Linked DNA regions of Homo sapiens: all the other regions are linked to region 6. The links are contacts of gene promoters, found by promoter capture Hi-C in human tissues and cell types (Jung and others, 2019). All regions are on one chromosome and are shown on one strand. The core of a region is centred on a gene start or on the middle of the fragment in contact, and the rest is flanking DNA. Distances in the headings are between cores, read along the strand shown.

Region 1 (2,700 bases), core at 189-2,688, 590 kb before region 6:
ACATCCAACTAAGACCCATTGTTACAGCACAAAAAGAATTCTCAAAAATCAGTAACAGCAAAAAATAAAAATAAAACCAAAGATGGCCAAAAGATATGCACACTTCACAAAAAATATACATGAATGACCACTGTACATAAAAATATTCTCAACATGCTCAGCCATTAGGGCAACGCAGCTTCTTTTACAGTCCAATGTGCACTTAGCATTCCACCCAGCAATCCCACTCTCAGGGATCCATCCAAGAGAAGTGAAAAAACATGTCCACGCTGAGACATACATCCAGCGTTATAACAGCTACAAACTGCAAACAAGCTAAACAACCACCAACTGTGCTACATCCATACAATGAAACACCATACAACAACAAAAAAACTAACGATATGCACACACAATATAAACTCACAAACATTTAGCCAAATGGACCTAGGGAAAAAATAAAAGACAACTCTATTAACTAGAATCATACACGAAAGGGAGTAAATTATTACTAAGCTTACAGAAATAAAAGATTATAAAGGAATATTATGAACAACTAAATGAGAAAACTGGATAGCCACATGCAAAGGCATGACGTTGGACCCTTCACCTCACATCATCTCCAAACATCAATTCCAAATGCATCAGACCTAAATACATTTCAGTTACAACTCCTAGATGACAACAGAGTTAAATCATGATCTAGGGTTCGACAATGGATTCTCAGATAAGATACCAAAGCACAAGCAACGAAAGCAGAAACAGACTTTTTAATGTTAACCATTAATCAAATCACCAAAATGTAAAACTTCTGTGCTTCAAAGGACAATATCACGAAAATGAAAAGACAACACAAAGAATGGGAGAAAGTATTTGCAAATCATTTTTCTAGTAAGAAACTTTTATCTATCATAACTCAATAATGAAAAGACAGCCAATTTAATAACGGACAAAGATAGGAATAGACATTTCCCCAAAGAATACATACAAATGGCAAACACGCACATGAAAAGATGCTCAACATCATTACTTATCAGGCAAATGCAATTAAAACCACACTGAGGTTCTGGCACAGAGTAGGCATTTTACTCGGAGCAAGCACAGAGCTTTATTATGCCAGGGATGTGGTGCAAAGTAAGGCAGAGTAGGTTCCTGTGTTTATATTAAGGCACAAAGTTGGGAAGAGTACACAGATGGCAAACAAACAAGTAAATGTATGATTAAATAAGGATATAATTCCAGGTAATAAGTGCTATGGTGTAAAATAAAACATGATAAAAGAGTAATCAAACAAACAGGGCAGGGCAAGAAATTATGACAGCTTTGTCAGGGCACAACTCAGATGAATTAACATTATTAGTGAAAAATCTGGGGAAAGAGTACCGCAGGCAGAACAAGTTTGGTGCATTAGAGAGACAAAAAGGCCATTGTAGCTGGAAGGTGGAGAGAAAGGGAGGGAATTACAGGGACATGAGGATGAAGTCCATGATGTAGACGGGAGCCAGACCAAGGAGGGCCCTGAAGATGAGTCCGGGTGTTACTTAAGTACACCTGGAATTATGTGGAGCATTTTTAAACACGCACATACTGTGATCTAATCATGGGCAGCTTCGCGAACACACAAGCTGTGCAGTTGCACAGGGCCCCAATGCTCTGCTGTCACCACCTGAAATTCTTAGCAATCTTATCTCTTAGCTTGTATTTTGTACGTAACATTCAACGGGACAATGAATGGAGCATGCACATGAACAGAGGAGACGTGTTGGGTGGCAGTATATGCATATAGAATTAATTCAGAAGAGTTTGTGGACAGCTATAGAAACATATTATCAGAAGACTTCTTTCACAAAGAGTATTAAGATCTTCGTTGAAGGCATGAGATGGTTCAAAGAATATTAACAGTAATCAATTTTCGAAGGGATCCAAAATCAAAATCAAGCTCATTTTTACTTTCTTCTCTTCCTCACCCACGTGGCTCCCAGCCCCGCTATATCAATTTACTCTCAGTTGTAGATTCCTATGTATAGTGGTGAGGCCCGAGGGGCCAAGTCCACACTAGGAAACGTCTCTGAGACTAAAGCTAACTGATTAAGGGTCAACATCTAACTCAAAGTGGGGCATCAGATTCTTTGCATCTCAGGTTTAGCAACAAGAGTGGACTTGAAGCCAAGACCTCACAGCAACTTTAAGGGAGGATTCTAATGAGAAGGCTGACATACCTCTGCTGCTAAAGTTCTTGGAGCTGGCTTGGTTGTTTACTTCAAAATTCTTGGTTTTCCTGACTGGTGTGTTTCTGTCTCCAACTTTACATGCAGTTATTTACTATAACTTCAAATATTTATCTGATGCTTTACAAGAGACCTCTAGTTTATAAACAATACCTTTCATTAGCTAACTCCACTACTAGGTTCTAGAACCTCCTAGTCAAGCTGATCCTGCTGCTACCCTTGGCCCAGAATGTATGTCCTGCTTCTAGTATCCTACTTTCTGATTACATTTATTCAAGTGAAAGTAGATTATTGTTTCATTAATACAGGTTTCAAGGCTTCTCACTGAGCAAAATCTCTAGCTATAGATTTTTTCTCATGTCAATAGGTTCAGTGGGAGCAGGGAAATAATCCCGTTTTCAGTCACAAACACTAATGAGGACAAATTCCCATACCAATCGAGTTTGTCATATATTCAATTATCTATGACAATAATATCCATGATGTGCTGAAT
Region 2 (2,700 bases), core at 41-2,540, 630 kb before region 6:
TCTTATGCCCAGCATGATCACTTTGAATAACATTTTACTTGAAATAACTTCAAACAGAAAATTTGCAAAATTAGTACAAGGGGCTCCTCCATATCCTCCATCTCACCTACTTATAATCATCTGCCCATGTGCTTTATATCCTCTCGCTTATGTTTATGCACATAGGTATATGTAACAACCAATTTTTTATCCATTTGAGAAGGCTGCAATACATCGATACATTATTTCTCCTTGCGTTTAGTACTTCAGTGCCTATTTTTTAAAAACAATACTTTTTTCATGTAACCACAGTACAGTAATTAAATTCAAGTAACACTGGTACAATACTTTTCATCTAATATACAGTATGTGCTCCAATTTTGTCAGTCATTCCTATTATAGCCTTTATAGCATTTTTCTCCTCTAGTCCAGGATCATATATTTTGCATTTAGTTGTCATGTCTCTTTAGTTTCCTTTGATTTGGAGTAATTCCTCAGCCTTTGTCTTTCAAGACACTGACATTTTTTAAAAATACAGGCTATTTCGTAGAATGAACCTAAATTGGAATTTGTTTAATGTTTTCTCATGAGATTTAGTCATGCCTCCCTAGCCAGAATACAACATAAGAAATGTTGTGACCTTCTCAGGTATTACATCTGCCAGCACACAGGCTTAATTCATTCTCATTAGTGATGTTAATTTTGATATCCAAAAAAAGTATTGTCAGATTTTGTCAATGTATAGTTTCTCCCAAGTAATTATCAATCTATGAGCAATCATGCTGAGAATCATATAATTATACAGCTGCTCATCAAACTTTGCCCCTGAGATTTGGCATCCACTAACGATTGTTGTCCTAACCAGTCTTTACTATCATGGTTGCAAATGGTGATTTTCCAATTCCAACAGTCCCTCCACATTGATTAGTAGGCATTCTACAGTAAGAAAGTGTCCCTCCCCATTCGTTCATGTATTACCACTGAAGAATTCCTATTTCATACAATGGGCTATACAATCCATCACTATTATGATACACTTTGATAGTCAAACTATCCCGGATATGTTCATTGGGAGCCCCTTCAGGATGGTTCCTATGTTCTTTTCATGTGTCTCCATTATTTCTTTGAGCAGTTCATTACTTTTTTTTTTTTTTTTTCCCCGAGACGGAGTCTCGCTCTGTCGTCCAGGCTGGAGTGCAGTGGCGCGGTCTCGGCTCACTGCAAGCTCCGCCTCCCGGGTTTACGCCAGTCTCCGGCCTCAGCCTCCCGAGTGGCCGCGCCTACAGGCGCCTGCCACCGCGCCCGGCTAATATTTTTTTTTGTATTTTTAGTAGAGACGGGGTTTCACCGTGGTCTCGATCTCCTGACCTCGTGATCCACCAGCCTCAGCCTCCCAAAGTGCCGGGATTACAGGAGTGAGCCACCGCGCCCGGCCGAGCAGTTCATTACTTTCTAGCACAGAAGATGTTCCAGGCTCCTTTTACACCTTCCCCGACCTAGCTTTGAAATCAGTCATTTTTTTTTCAAAGTTTTGGTGTCTTTTAATAAACGGCATGTAGAAACCAAGCTCTTGGAAGCAGGTGTGCTCCACTGCTATTGGGGTCTCACTGCTTCTAGGTCTTTTCTGTAGCAGAAATAGAGGTTTGTTTCCCGCAGTGATTCTGATGCCTACAACTTCAATCCAAATCCACAAGTTTCTCCTCTGTCTTCCCCCTTCCACATTTGTATCTTCTTCTTCTACAGTAAGAGCCCTTGCTCCCAACACATTTACTTATTTGCTTAATCCTACAACATACATAAAATAGTTGCAGAATTACTACACCACACACTGCAAAAAACAAAGAACAACAAACTTAATAAGAAGTCAAAGTTGGTTTGAAATTCCCTTTTCTTTCCTCCTACACCAAGAATATGAAGTCAAAGAATTACGTTCAAAAGTTACTTAGATTAGTTCTTTACTTTCTTCAGTGTGGTTGTTTGAAATATAGGTGGCTCATTTATTTCTGCTTACATTCAAATTTTAGGTGTTTTTCCCCCATCTTCAATTTAATTTTATTTTTTAATATGTAGCACATTAACATGCCTCCAGAAATTAAAATTATACCAAAATGGCATGGTCTACTTAATGTCTTATCTACCCTCTGTTCTCACGTTCTTATAGGTAATCAATTTCAATGTTTTCTGGTTTATCCTTCTTGTGCTTATTTTTGGAAAAAAAATATATATACATATATATATATATATATATATGCAGTTAAATGAGTTTTTTTTCCTTAATTCCTATAGTGTATTAGTAATCTATTTCTGCCTAGCAAATTACATCTGGAAATGACAACTTAAAAGAATGAATGTTATTTCACATAGTTTCTGAGGGTCAGGAATCTGGGAATGGTTAGCTGGATGATTCTGACTCAGCATTTCCAACAAGGTTGCTGCCAAGCTATACATGGGGACTATCATATCTCATCTCAAGGCTTAAATGCGGCTGGAAAATCTGCTTCCAAGAATCTTCATGTGGTTATTGACAAGCCTCAGTTTCTCACTGGCTACTGGCCAGAGACTTCAGTACCTCCCCAAATGGGCTTGTCTATAAGGCAGTTTACAATATGGCAGTTTGCTGCTTCCGGAGCAAGTGATCCAAGTGAATGAGAAAAACAGCCCAACATAAAAGCCATAGTTTTTATGACCATCTTGAAAATGGCTTATCATCAGCTCTGCCAT
Region 3 (2,700 bases), core at 68-2,567, 680 kb before region 6:
CATACGAACTCAGGTGGGTCTGTTGGCTAGGGGCCTCAGTTCTTCATGTGGACCTCGTCACATGGCTGCTTGGGCTGCCTTATGACATGGCAGCTGGGTTCCAAGAAGAATTACAAAAAAAGAAACTAGCAGCTGCCAGGCCAACTCAGGGGCGTGTCCTGAATAGGACAGAGTATCACTTGCGCCTTATTTTATTCAAAGCAGTCCCAGGCTAAGCCCAGAGTCAGTGTGGCAGGGGGCTAGACAAGGGCATGAGTAATAAAAGGGACGGTTTATTGAGGCATCTCCAAATAACAACCTACCACATAAAGACTGTTAAAATCCTGGCCAAACACAGTATTTGGAAAAAAGTTATACTGAGAGACGGGGGTACTGATCAAGAATAATGAGAAACTCTACAACCCTAAAACTTAAATGTAGATACAAAGAATTACACTAATCCTCCATCTTTCTTGTTCTTCACTGGATGGGGTTTATGGAATTCCATATATGGCATTATTTTCAGCCAGATATTAATTTTTAATCAACACGTGTTTAAAAATGGGCATATATCTCAAGAATGTATTTCTGAATTTATAAGCTGCTAATTTAGACAAATTTATTTATTAAATGTGACACTGGGTGAAGAGAGGGGAAGGCCAAGCTCCAACTGAATTAATTAAATTATATGCTTTATAGATTACAAGACAATCTATAGGTTATTTTATCCAAAGGCAGCTGGGACAGAGCTTGGACAATAAGGACATTTAAGTGGAGAGAAGGGGAACACTGGAGTACTTAAAAGTATGTAAGTGTCCATTCTAGATACATTTGAAAGTTTCAGAAAAAATTATCAAAGGAGTAGGAATCTAATTTTCTAAAGGTTACTGTGTGCTACAAACTGTACTAGGTATACTGACCACATTATTTCACTTAATCCTCTCAAATGCCTTGTGGAAAGGGTATGGTTATTTCCATTTGAGAGTGAGTAAATTAAAAACTCTAGAGCCATAGACACACACTTGGAAAGCAGAATAGAACCCAATCCCTCTGACCTTACAGTCTATTTGCCCTATCACAGTTTTTCTATGGTGTCTTCAAGGTACAGCACTAAATTCACTAAATTCTACTTTATTTCTGATTGATTTCCTTTTGAAAGTAGTTTTCAAACACTTTACTTTTCTCTGTTTCCAGTCATCTTCATTATTAACTATTTGGAAGCAAATATTTACAGAAAGTTGACACTTAAAGAAATCCTTAAGTTTTCTGAATTAAAATCATGTTCCTCCAATTACCTGCTCATCTAAATTTGTGGTTTCTTACAGAAGGGTATACTAAATACTAAAGCGTTAAAACTAAAAGGGCCAGGAAAAAACACTGTCACCTTAAATCAGCACTTTATAACTGTATCACCGCAAAAGGAATACTGTATCATTTTAATGCATTAGCTTCAATGTCTTCCATAATGTCTTAATCATTCTACCAATGTTTGAGCTCCCCGTTAACCAGTACCATCAACCATATAGTTATCTCCCATGACACTAAGCACAGTGACCCACACATGGTAGGTATTAAGTGTTGGTGGAATGAATGAATGAAAGGAGCAGAGGGAAACCTGAAATACTCAAAATTACATTGGAGATGTTATTTTAAAAGCACCTATCAAATATTAGTTACTTTTAATTGGTGACATATACTAGTAGCAACAGTAGGCAGAGTAGATATATTCAAAGATACATATTATTTCTATTTGGAAATATGTGCAATAGTCCCTAACCCCTACCTATTGCCTATTAAGATGAGGAATGGATAATTTTGGACATTTATTTTGGAAGGGGATAAAGACACCTAGAAAAGGAGAATAACACAGAGAGGAACCACAAAGAACTCTCAAAAGAGTTGACTGTTGGACTAATTTTATTCAAATATTTATTTTCATTTATTATAAAAGGTATCCTTACGAAAATTAACACTGGAAAACAAGAGAATATTACCACCTTAAATTTAGATATCAAACAAGGCCAGAACATGTGGATAATAGCTAATAAAACATCTGATACTGATATAAAACACTGTAAAGGGAGATTAAAGATCAAAAAATCCAAGTTTGAAAATAAAGGAATAAAGAATTCTAGAAAGGCAACAACCTATTTTCAGGTTCTGGTTCACCTAATGGCAATAATGAATTGTGGACTGTTATGACTAATCATACTGGGCAGAAGGTAGAAGATGACTAAATAACATCTATGTCCCTATGTTTCTAAAAGTGGTCATCATTATAACACGTATATAATTGCATAAAAGTATCATTTTAGAGCAACAACAAAAGGTAGCATTTTAGAACAAAAAAAAATTCTGCTTTTAGGGAAAAAAAAAGCCAATAAAATTTCTAGTGTAGCCAGGAGCCAATTTTGATTTATGTGTAAAATAAAAGCATAGTAACAATATAAACTGTATAAAACCTTATTGATGTTTTATAATTTTCAGAATTCTAAAGGTTAGGAAAACAATTGTCTTTGGGAAACAAAATATTAACTTCTCACATATTACCTAATTAGATAATCATCAAGTCACAGTATAGAATTAAGAGTACTTAAAATTTACACTCTCATTGTATAATCCCACATATTACATTAAAAAAAAACCTAAAGTCTCAAACCCCCACATATCTCTAGGCAAATTCCCCACCTACTAACCACTGTATAAGAGACATTTCTTTTC
Region 4 (2,700 bases), core at 178-2,677, 720 kb before region 6:
TTATTTGTGCTATTATGCTAGCCATTAGCCACGTGTGACTACGGAATACCTGAAATGTGGCTAGTGTAACTAATGGAAAGATTTTCCATTTTATTTAATTTTAATTAGTTTAAATGTAGCCAGATGTAGCTAGTGGCTACCATATTGGAAAGAGCAAGTCTAGAGAAAGAAATCAAATCTTTGGAAATAATGTTTTAAAGTGCTAATTCATAAAAAGCTGCTTCTCTTGTTTTCTTTACATTGATGTTAGTTTTGACACAAATATTGCCAGCAGTTTATAATGAAAACTTTATTAATGTAAACTTCTGGCAACTACAGACTTGAGAGTTGAAAGTGCAGGTTTCTAAAGTAGATCTCAAACCCGTATTAACAAGTGTATTTAAATGAATCTTATAAAATGTTATCCAGAACAAAACAAATTACTATACATCTTATTTGACTGATATTAATATATTCTTTCAAAAGTCATTATAGATATAACCTGATATTGGGTTAATAAATAACTAAAAAGTTCAGCTAATGCATGGTCCATAGTCTACAGAGACATACAAATTCCTGGTAAAAATAGTAGTTTAAAAACTCATATCCTATTTCAAATAAGAAACAATTCCCATTACAAAAAAAAAAAACCTTTTGGAGGGCAAAATTTTCCTATATATATTTTTTATTTGTATTAGCTTTCCAGATCAATAAAGAATTAAACTAAAAAGTTCTGCATGTTCTAAATTAAGCATTTAATTACCTATATAATGTCTTATTTCAAAAATCAATTTTAAAGGAGATTTATCAAAATAATCGAAGAAAAATATTTCATTTGTATTCAGTATTTAGTTTTATCTTTTGCCAGAACTCATATATTCTAACTGCATTCAGTAAGAAGACATTTTAAAAGTATTATATGGATCTGATATGCTTGATTTATTCAATACTTTCTTCTCCATTTTGTTAATTATCTCTAAAAGCTATGCACATAATTTGAGGCAAAGCTATGTGTTTGCCTGACTTATGGTTAAAACATACAGAAACTAACTTAAAATTCGGTACTAAATGATTCTCAGTAAAATGAGAAAATTTAGAAATTTTAACAAAAATCACAACTTTTAGAAATCATTAGAATTTACTGAGAGGGAAGAAATATTTCCTAGGCAAGGAGTAATATCTCCTTTAAGCAAATGTTCTATCACTCCATAAAAACAGGAAGTCAAAGTCTTTTTTTTTTTTTTTTTTTTGAGTTCAAGCTTGAAATTTATATAGAAAATTTCATTTGTTCAGCTGGATCTTACTCATGTTGATAGTGAAGACATGCTAGATAGATTTCCTTCTAAATCTTCCCGTCTCAAGATCACCATTAAGGCTGAAGTAGAATGATCACTATCTACGAATGACCTAGCATGAGGAAAATAAATCCTCATCAATAGTTTTCACAATGTTGCACAATTAGTTTTATTATGCTATTTAGCTCTGATCTTCCTATAACAATATACACATATCATAATCTCTACAAGCCCTAGAAGGGTCCCTGTTGCATCATATAGCAGTGATTCTCAACTTGGCTGTATTTCTTGGGGTCCCTTTAGAAATCTGTGGGGTCATGTTTTGTCTTCTAATATAGTTGTGTCCAATCTATTTACATAAGAACTATAAATTATTTTATTGTAACTTACTGCTATTTTCCCTTTATATTATAGTTAGGGCATTTTTTTCTTTTCTTTTCTTTTTTTTTTGTTGAGATGGAGTCTCGCTCTGTCACCCAGGCTGGATGGAGTGCAGTGGCGCGATCTTGGCTCACTGCAACCTCCGTCTCCTAGGTTCCAGTGATTCTCCTGCCTCAGGCTCCCGAGTAGCTGGAATTACAGGCACGCACCACCACACCCGGCTAATTTTTTAACATTTAGTAGAGATGGGGGTTTCACCATGTTGGCCAAGGTGGTCTGGAACTCCTGACCTCGTGATCCGCCCACCTCGGCCTCCCAAAGTGCTGGGATTACAGGCGTCAGCCACCATGCCCGATCTAGTTAGGGCGTTTTATATAGATTTTTGGAAAGGTACCTATACAGTTAGGTCATATTATCTATGAATTTCACTTCTGAAATGTCATAAGGATATGTCATAAGACATTCTTTATAAAAAGCGGGCACTGTACCTGATAGAGTTAAGAACTACCAGACTGTAGGTAGAAAAAAGTAACCAGGACTTCTGACTCCTAGTCTATAGCCTTCTACATTTTACTCTTCTGGTTTGTCATTTCATTCCATAGCAGATATAATCCACAGACAAAATTAAAAGGTTAGGAAAGAGGTTAATTATACTAAACTTTTGATTCTAGTTCATTTTGTCAGTAGGTAGACTGCATTACTTCCTCTAGTTTTGGGACTTAGGAAGCCAGTATCTATTTTCTTATCAATTTATATTTAAAATATCTAACACTATACCAGGCAGACAATGAAACATTCAGCAAAATTTTATAATTTTATATATATATATAATTTATTTATTTATTTTTGAGACAGAGTTTCACTCTGTCTCCAGGCTGGAGTGCAGTGGCGTGATCTCGGCTCACTGCAACCTCCGCCTCCCGCGTTCAAGCAATTCTCCTTGCCTCAGCCTCCCAAGTAGCTGGGGCTACAAGGCATGCGCCACTCCGCCCAGCTAATTTTTGTATTTTTAATAGAGACAGGGTTTCACCATGTTGGCCAAGAT
Region 5 (2,700 bases), core at 173-2,672, 610 kb before region 6:
AAACTAACAACATCCAATATAATCTCCCCTGAAATTCATTACAAATTAGGATATAGTTTCTTGTTAATAACTTATATTAAATTTTGCCTTTTAAAAAAGTGAAAGTAGATCTAAAAGCGTTGTTGCATTAAATGTATCTAACAAATGGACAAAGCGGGTGTTGAGAGTTGGAGAGAAGGAAACGTCAGAGGGAGGACATTTAGATATACAAAGAGTCTTGCTCAGCATTTATAACCTACCCCTGTTACTATGCACTGTATTTCTCCTTTGGTCAGAGACCACTCTAAAGCTGCTATTGTTGCCCAGGGCTTTGTTAAGAGACTGAAAGGCTGTAGAATCTGAGCAGGCCCGAGGCTATGTATTTTAATTTCACTACTTAAAATTATATATTTATACTTAAATTTCTTATCTACACTAATTTAAGTAGGTTTATTACTCTAGTGTATGTTACTGTTATCCAGCAACTAAATACACTAATCTTTGATTGAGAAAAGTCATATTACTCTGAGCAATAATTATATTGATTTTAGCACAGTGCAAAGTTGTTTTTCTATGCAGAGTAATTAAGCAAAATTCCATAGATTTTCAAAGCTTTCTGTACATAAACGTTTTCCCTTCGCCTCAGTATTTTTGCTAAATTTTCACACCATGGACTCTAAACTTAAACAAGAACAAAATATTTATTTTCTTCGACCATGGGCAAATTTAAAAGGTAGTTAAAAGTCATTTACTTTCACATAACCTAAAACAATACTGTTAGCACTGCAGTGACAGAGGCTCATTACGAAGGTCAGTTAAGTAAAAGAGGGCAAAGGCAGCAGGACTCAGATGCTAAGAATAAAAACAAAAATAGATCCAATGCAGCATTTTGAGAATGCAGATCAATGAAAACACTTAGAGCACTATTTTCTATATTGTTATGAGAGACCTTTTCCATTCTAGCATTTCCTCTTTGCTGGTTCTTGGCATTTGCTTTAATAAAACTAATATTTAAGCCACAAATTTGCATTATCTGAAGTAAAAAGATAATAAACGCCTCAGTTAAAAATAACTTAGCTATCATGGTAAAAGTGAAAACATATGATTAAAGTATAAACGGGGTGGCAAGGGAGAGGCAGCGGCATATTTTATTTGACTATCGATCCAAGAAATAAGGCAGCAGGCAGCAGGTTGTCTTTCCAATCAAAACTACTTTTATAGTAATATAAATGCCCTTGCTTGCTCAACAGTAAAGGTCTTAAACAACTGAGAGGATGAGATACAGAAAAATTATGATATAAACCATAAAAATGACTAAAATACGAGTGAAAGATGTTATGATTTAATGCTATCATTCTAAGTAGACCAACAATCTTACTGCTTATGCTTACGACAGCATAGCAATTAATGAGACAGATATCAAATCAATAATAAAGTAGTAGATAATGGCAGATATATTTGCTTAGCTTCATCAGTGAAAAGAAAAATTCAGCATAACAAGATTTTATAAAATCAAGTAAGGAGTTACACAGATATAATCATTCGGTAGCTCTCTGTCTTCTTACCTGTAAGGACAGCTTTTGCTGAAGGATCTGCCAGGTCCAGGGCTGATTTCCCATCAGTGTTCCGAATGTTTGGGTCAGCTCCGTGCTGCAGCAGCACTGTGCAGGGAAAGCAGAAACAGTATCTTACCTCGGGGATACAGAGATTATTTACTGGTAAGTGTCGTCTCGGCATGGTGTAGGCATAAACATACATTGCACAAATTTTTTCTCTTTCAAGAAAAAAAAAGAAAAAAAGCAAAAAAGCACTGCAGCAAAGGAGCCTCTCTAGAGTGAAATGAAGTTGGCAACTTATGGTACAATATTATCACATGACTTAACATCATAAACATGAAACTAGAAAAATCTTGCAATGTAGAGTTTTGGTTTGCCTCCTTCAAGCAGCAGTATGGGAAGCTATGTGCTCGCTGGCTCACACTGTGAAATATGCTAACTGTGAACCTGCCCTCTCTTTACTACCACTGTGGCTGCTTGTTGCTGTCGCTGCTTTACTGCTGAATTTCCAAATGCCTCCTCTCCTCAGAATAGTTATAATACTGTGCAAGCCTTTTAGTGGCTCACCACTTGCACATGAAACTCACCATAACATACTGGATGGCTTCCAAGAAGTTTAACAGACATAGTAATGTGTGTAACCCTGGTCCCCTGGCGTGGAGCTGCAAAAAGGAACTGCCTCTTATACTCATTCTTTCCATCAAAAATGTTTAGAAACAGAAACTCAATCACTATAATATATCCTAAGGCACGAATGTAATGCCTGCCATATTGGGTAAAAAGTAGCTACTGGGAATTCTTAAATATGGAGGTTCCTACAAAAGAAAAAATCACTGTTTAAGTAAAATCCAGATATATTAATCCAAAGCATTTATCAGCCACATCTGGTATGTGGTGTGTATACGTAGGGAGGGTGGAGAGGGCAGGAGAGGAGGAGACTGTTGCTGTAATACTACCCAAACAATGATTAAATCAATGAATGTATTAAAAAGTTGTTCCAGTAAGTAAAATTCAATTGTAAGTTATGAGGCACTACCGTTGATGAGTCCCAAATTTTCATTCATTCATGACAGTTCCATGCTAAAGCACATACATTCTTTAGCAATATTTGGAAGGTAATACTCACACATTACCAAGCCGTAAGTCCTTCTGTTTACAAAGCTCT
Region 6 (2,700 bases), core at 41-2,540:
AGAAAGATAATTGCAAGGATCCAAAGGAAGTGCACACAGGGCAAAAGGAACATACAGAGATCCTTAACGAGACCTTCTTTCCAATGTCAAAGAACACAAGGCAGCGAGGGGCACTGGGAACAAAAGGGAAAAAACTGTGTGAGATGCAATTACCAAGGGAGGCAGGCACCCGACCCCGCAGAGCAGCAAATGGAAGTGACTCAGGAGGGGAATAAGCCAAATTCATGTTATTGAAAAGCTCATTCTAGCTGCCAGATGGAAACTGACTGTGGACGGAAGGAGCAAGAGTTAGGAGGCCTCTTGCAAATACGCACTTTATGAAGCTTTACGAAGTGTTCAACATGTTTATTATTAGGAAAAGATCAATTTTAGTATTCAATCACTTACAATCCGCAGCGCTAGTCAACAATTAACATTCGTTAAATAAGTTTTAAGACTGTTCTACAACTTTGCCACTGTAACTAAGTTCAACCGATGAGATGTCAAAATGATTCATTCAATCTTATACTATGGTTATATGAGACACCAGTTAATGAGCAAAAGCAGCTAAGACGAAGCTCCACTTAACAGGTACAGAGACAGGGATGCTGGTGAGTGCTTTTTAAATTTTTTCTTTTTTTAAAAACAGGCATGAAGTGACATACCTAGCGTATATGGTGAGATTTTAAAAACATAAAGCCTTGCAAACTACCCATAACGGCTACATGGAGTGACAACAGCAACCGTGAACACAGAATTAAGTTTAAAGCAAAACTCCCTCTTAGAACCTGTTAACCCACTGTAGACAGAACTGGTCTTGACGATTTCCTCCCTCCCAGAGAGTGATTCGGCCCTGAGGGGGCTCCAAGACACCCACCCGAGGATAAAGCCAGGGAGCTGGGCACCGAGGAAGAGGCTGGGGTCCAAGGGCGCACAGCTGCACCTTCTGCGGGACACCTGAGAAGAAAGGGGTGCCGAGGGCGCTTTGGGGACGGGGCAGCTGGCGCCAACAGCCAGGCGCGGGTCGACTCCTCACCTCGGGACTGGGACGCGGCGGCTCCTCCCCGCCCTCCGGCCGCGGCGACTCCAGCAGCGCGAGAGCCACGGCCTCGCCGGCAGGCTCTTTACTCTGTGGATCCTCCATGCCGGCTGTCACGCCAGAGGAGAGTTGCTGGAGCCGGACACTTGCTAACTCTCACTCTGCAGAGCCCGAAAGCCTCGCCTTTCTCCGTTGAAAAATTACCGGGCTCGCGTTCCCGCGGCGGCGGCCACACAAACTCCAGCGGCCACCTCCCACTTCCGGGAGCGTGTGGCGTCCACACGCCGGGCAGGCGCAGTGAGCCGGCGTGCGCGGAACGCCAGCGCCGCAGTCCACAGGGGGAGGGAGGACGAACAAGAGGGAGGCGCGCCGGTGAGAAGACGGGGCGTGGCCGGCCGTAGGCGGAGCTAGCGCGGGTTGAAGTTGCGCAAGGATCTAGTCCAGTCACTGGAGGGTAGCACCGGCACGTGTGTTCCCGTCAGTGTTTCCTGAGAAGGAAAAAAGTAGGGTGAGTGGGAAGATATCATAGAGAAAGATGTTTTCGACCATAAAAAATAATAAAACAATTCACATTTTCCATAAGGAGTTTCCTAAAACTTCCACTCTGGGCAAGAAAAGAAAATGGGTCGGGACTTAGTGTCCCACTATAAACAATTAGAAAACGGAACAAAATATAGGAGACACCTATTCAGACATTGGACAACGGACAGCTGTGGACTGTTTTACCTGAGAGAAAAGAAATAAAAGGAGCCGTATATCATCCTGCCCTTTTGCCCAGAGGCGATTTCCAGTCTGTGGTGCGATGAAAGGAAATCATATGGAAACCTAGGATCTCCTGGGTTGAAAAGACAGAGATTGGAGTTGACGAAATTGGGGTAGGCCAAGTCGGTTGGAATTTGTAGGGCAGAATTCTGGAGAGGAGGGAATTACATGGAAAAAGAGCTTCAGAAATCTGCTTAGGAGTACCTTGAATCTTTAACTGAATAAAAAACGTGAAACTCCACAAGGCCAGGAAAGAACAATTACTGGGGAGCAGTACACCAAACAATGGTGAGAGGTCACACAGAACTGGGAATCATTTGAGCTCCCAGCAACCAGAGTGAAGAGATTATTGAATACCATGGAACACGCAATAGAAACCTCAGATGTGAAACTGCCATTGCAAAATTATCATTGAGACAGTGAAAGAGATCAGACCTAACCAACTCCATCTTGCTTTTAACCTCCAGGCTATCCTTATTCATTCCTAGGCGTAGGCCAAACTAACACTGGGAGGAACTTAGTGTATAGCTTATAGTTTAAAACAAAGGTGATAGCCCTTTCTCAAAATAAACCCTCTTCTTGAGACTAGACTGCTTTTGTAGGACTAGTAAATTAGCCGAAAGATTAGAAATTATGATTTAGGACTCATGCAGCTGAAGGCTACAAGATTCTAACCCTCTCCAAATTGCTCCTGGGGATAATATCACTATTGTAAAATCTAAGATCAGTGCTTGAGATATTTTGCAGGCCCTGCACTTGATGGATCAGCTGGCACCTCCCAGATTGATAAACTGACTCACCTGATCTTGGATAAACTAGCTCATCTGATTTTGTGTCCCCCACGGGAGGAACTGACTCAGTGCAAGAGGACAGCATCGACTCCCTATGATTTCATCTCCTACCCAACCAGTCACCACTCC
Region 7 (2,700 bases), core at 178-2,677, 530 kb after region 6:
AAAAATTAGCCGGGCATGGTGGTGGACACCTGTAATTCCAGCTACTTAGGAGGCTGAGGCAAGGAGAATCACTTGAATCCGGGAGGCGGAGGTTGCAGTGAACCAAGATCGCACCATTGCACTCCAGCCTGGGCAACAAGAGCAAAACTCAGTCTAAAAAAAGAGAGAGAGAGAGAGAGAGAGAGAGAGAGATGGAGAAACGAGCATAGAGAGAGGAAGAGTGTGACCAAGTGGCCAAAGGCGGCCAGCATGATTCTGGAAGTGACCCTGCGCTCACTGCGCTCCTCAACCAACGAGCTCCATAGGTTTCAGGGGCCTCACTTGCAAACTCTAGGGTTCGGATTACAAAACCTCAAGTTCTAGTACACCTTTAAGTTTCTGTGTGTCAACAGTCAGGATGCCAGAACCGGGAGCCAGCTCAGCATCGGAGGTGTCAATCACATCTCTTTTTTTTTTTTTTTTTAATTTTTTTTTTATTATACTTTAAGTTTTAGGGTACATGTGCACATTGTGCAGGTTAGTTACATATGTATACATGTGCCATGCTGGTGCGCTGCACCCACCAACGTGTCATCTATCATTAGATGTATCTCCCACTGCTATCCCTCCCCACTCCCCCGACCCCACCACCGTCCCCAGAGTGTGATATTCCCCTTCCTGTGTCCTTGTGATCTCATTGTTCAATTCCCACCTATGAGTGAGAATATGCGGTGTTTGGTTTTTTGTTCTTGCGATAGTTTACTGAGAATGATGGTTTCCAATTTCATCCATGTCCCTACAAAGGACATGAACTCATCATTTTTTATGGCTGCATAGTATTCCATGGTGTATATGTGCCACATTTTCTTAATCCAGTCTATCATTGTTGGACATTTGGGTTGGTTCCAAGTCTTTGCTATTGTGAATAATGCCACAATAAACATACGTGTGCATGTGTCTTTATAGCAGCATGATTTATAGTCCTTTGGGTATATACCCAGTAATGGGATGGCTGGGTCAAATGGTATTTCTAGTTCTAGATCCCTGAGGAATCGCCACACTGACTTCCACAATGGTTGAACTAGTTTACAGTCCCACCAACAGTGTAAAAGTGTTCCTATTTCTCCACATCCTCTCCAGCACCTGTTGTTTCCTGACTTTTTAATGATTGCCATTCTAACTGGTGTGAGATGATATCTCATAGTGGTTTTGATTTGCATTTCTCTGATGGCCAGTGATGATGAGCATTTCTTCATGTGTTTTTTGGCTGCATAAATGTCTTCTTTTGAGAAGTGTCTGTTCATGTCCTTCGCCCACTTTTTGATGGGGTTGTTTGTTTTTTTCTTGTAAATTTGTTTGAGTTCATTGTAGATTCTGGATATTAGCCCTTTGTCAGATGAGTAGGTTGCGAAAATTTTCTCCCATGTTGTAGGTTGCCTGTTCACTCTGATGGTAGTTTCTTTTGCTGTGCAGAAGCTCTTTAGTTTAATTAGATCCCATTTGTCAATTTTGGCTTTTGTTGCCATTGCTTTTGGTGTTTTGGACATGAAGTCCTTGCCCACGCCTATGTCCTGAATGGTAATGCCTAGGTTTTCTTCTAGGGTTTTTATGGTTTTAGGTCTAACGTTTAAATCTTTAATCCATCTTGAATTGATTTTTGTATAAGGTGTAAGGAAGGGATCCAGTTTCAGCTTTCTACATATGGCTAGCCAGTTTTCCCAGCACCATTTATTAAATAGGGAATCCTTTCCCCATTGCTTGTTTTTCTCAAGTTTGTCAAAGATCAGATAGTTGTAGATATGCGGCATTATTTCTGAGGGCTCTGTTCTGTTCCATTGATCTATATCTCTGTTTTGGTACCAGTACCATGCTGTTTTGGTTACTGTAGCCTTGTAGTATAGTTTGAAGTCAGGTAGTGTGATGCCTCCAGCTTTGTTCTTTTGGCTTAGGATTGACTTGGCAATGCGGGCTCTTTTTTGGTTCCATATGAACTTTAAAGTAGTTTTTTCCAATTCTGTGAAGAAAGTCATTGGTAGCTTGATGGGGATGGCATTGAATCTGTAAATTACCTTGGGCAGTATGGCCATTTTCACGATATTGATTCTTCCTACCCATGAGCATGGAATGTTCTTCCATTTGTTTGTGTCCTCTTTTATTTCCTTGAGCAGTGGTTTGTAGTTCTCCTTGAAGAGGTCCTTCACATCCCTTGTAAGTTGGATTCCTAGGTATTTTATTCTCTTTGAAGCAATTGTGAATGGGAGTTCAGTCATGATTTGGCTCTCTGTTTGTCTGTTGTTGGTGTATAAGAATGCTTGTGATTTTTGTACATTGATTTTGTATCCTGAGACTTTGCTGAAGTTGCTTATCAGCTTAAGGAGATTTTGGGCTGAGACAATGGGGTTTTCTAGATATACAATCATGTCGTCTGCAAACAGGGACAATTTGACTTCCTCTTTTCCTAATTGAATACCCTTTATTTCCTTCTCCTGCCTGATTGCCCTGGCCAGAACTTCCAACACTATGTTGAATAGGAGTGGTGAGAGAGGGCATCCCTGTCTTGTGCCAGTTTTCAAAGGGAATGCTTCCAGTTTTTGCCCATTCAGTATGATATTGGCTGTGGGTTTGTCATAGATAGCTCTTATTATTTTGAAATACGTCCCATCAATACCTCATTTATTGAGAGTTTTTAGCATGAAGGGTTGTTGAATTTTGTCAAAGGCT

Evidence for each region. The method cuts DNA at HindIII sites, captures the fragments that hold promoters and counts their contacts. A contact is called where the count stands out against the background at its distance.
Region 1: a fragment that was not itself captured here is called in contact with the fragment with the promoter of ERI1 in region 6 in 2 of the 25 tissues and cell types used here (bladder and small bowel).
Region 2: a fragment that was not itself captured here is called in contact with the fragment with the promoter of ERI1 in region 6 in 1 of the 25 tissues and cell types used here (aorta).
Region 3: a fragment that was not itself captured here is called in contact with the fragment with the promoter of ERI1 in region 6 in 1 of the 25 tissues and cell types used here (dorsolateral prefrontal cortex).
Region 4: a fragment that was not itself captured here is called in contact with the fragment with the promoter of ERI1 in region 6 in 1 of the 25 tissues and cell types used here (mesenchymal stem cells).
Region 5: a contact is called between a fragment that was not itself captured here and the fragment with the promoter of ERI1 in region 6, in 1 of the 25 tissues and cell types used here (heart left ventricle).
Region 7: a fragment that was not itself captured here is called in contact with the fragment with the promoter of ERI1 in region 6 in 1 of the 25 tissues and cell types used here (lymphoblastoid cells).

Annotation. Positions count from the first base shown.
Region 1 is chr8:9,588,974-9,591,673 of GRCh38, reverse strand. The region is part of intron 2 of TNKS (tankyrase); the gene reads right to left. Among named protein-coding and RNA genes, the nearest start is that of TNKS, 34 kb to the right of the region's middle. The HindIII fragment of the contact is 6,330 bases long and covers 1-2,700 here.
Region 2 is chr8:9,633,610-9,636,309 of GRCh38, reverse strand. All of the region lies in intron 3 of TNKS (tankyrase), which reads right to left. Among named protein-coding and RNA genes, the nearest start is that of TNKS, 79 kb to the right of the region's middle. The HindIII fragment of the contact is 5,989 bases long and covers 1-2,700 here.
Region 3 is chr8:9,683,605-9,686,304 of GRCh38, reverse strand. All of the region lies in intron 5 of TNKS (tankyrase), which reads right to left. Among named protein-coding and RNA genes, the nearest start is that of MIR597, 57 kb to the left of the region's middle. The HindIII fragment of the contact is 5,513 bases long and covers 1-2,700 here.
Region 4 is chr8:9,721,084-9,723,783 of GRCh38, reverse strand. All of the region lies in intron 12 of TNKS (tankyrase), which reads right to left. Among named protein-coding and RNA genes, the nearest start is that of MIR597, 19 kb to the left of the region's middle. The HindIII fragment of the contact is 4,617 bases long and covers 1-2,700 here.
Region 5 is chr8:9,614,522-9,617,221 of GRCh38, reverse strand. It overlaps TNKS (tankyrase), which reads right to left. Exons shown (of 27, transcript NM_003747.3): 3 at 1,545-1,640. Among named protein-coding and RNA genes, the nearest start is that of TNKS, 60 kb to the right of the region's middle. The HindIII fragment of the contact is 4,214 bases long and covers 1-2,700 here.
Region 6 is chr8:9,001,487-9,004,186 of GRCh38, reverse strand. It overlaps ERI1 (exoribonuclease 1), which reads right to left and starts at 1,290. Exons shown (of 7, transcript NM_153332.4): 1 at 1,016-1,290. The coding sequence starts at 1,123. It overlaps LOC105379227 (a long non-coding RNA gene), which reads left to right and starts at 1,445. Exons shown (of 3, transcript XR_002956680.2): 1 at 1,445-1,526. The HindIII fragment of the contact is 7,447 bases long and covers 1-2,700 here.
Region 7 is chr8:8,474,653-8,477,352 of GRCh38, reverse strand. No RefSeq gene overlaps it. Among named protein-coding and RNA genes, the nearest start is that of LINC02950, 15 kb to the right of the region's middle. The HindIII fragment of the contact is 4,712 bases long and covers 1-2,700 here.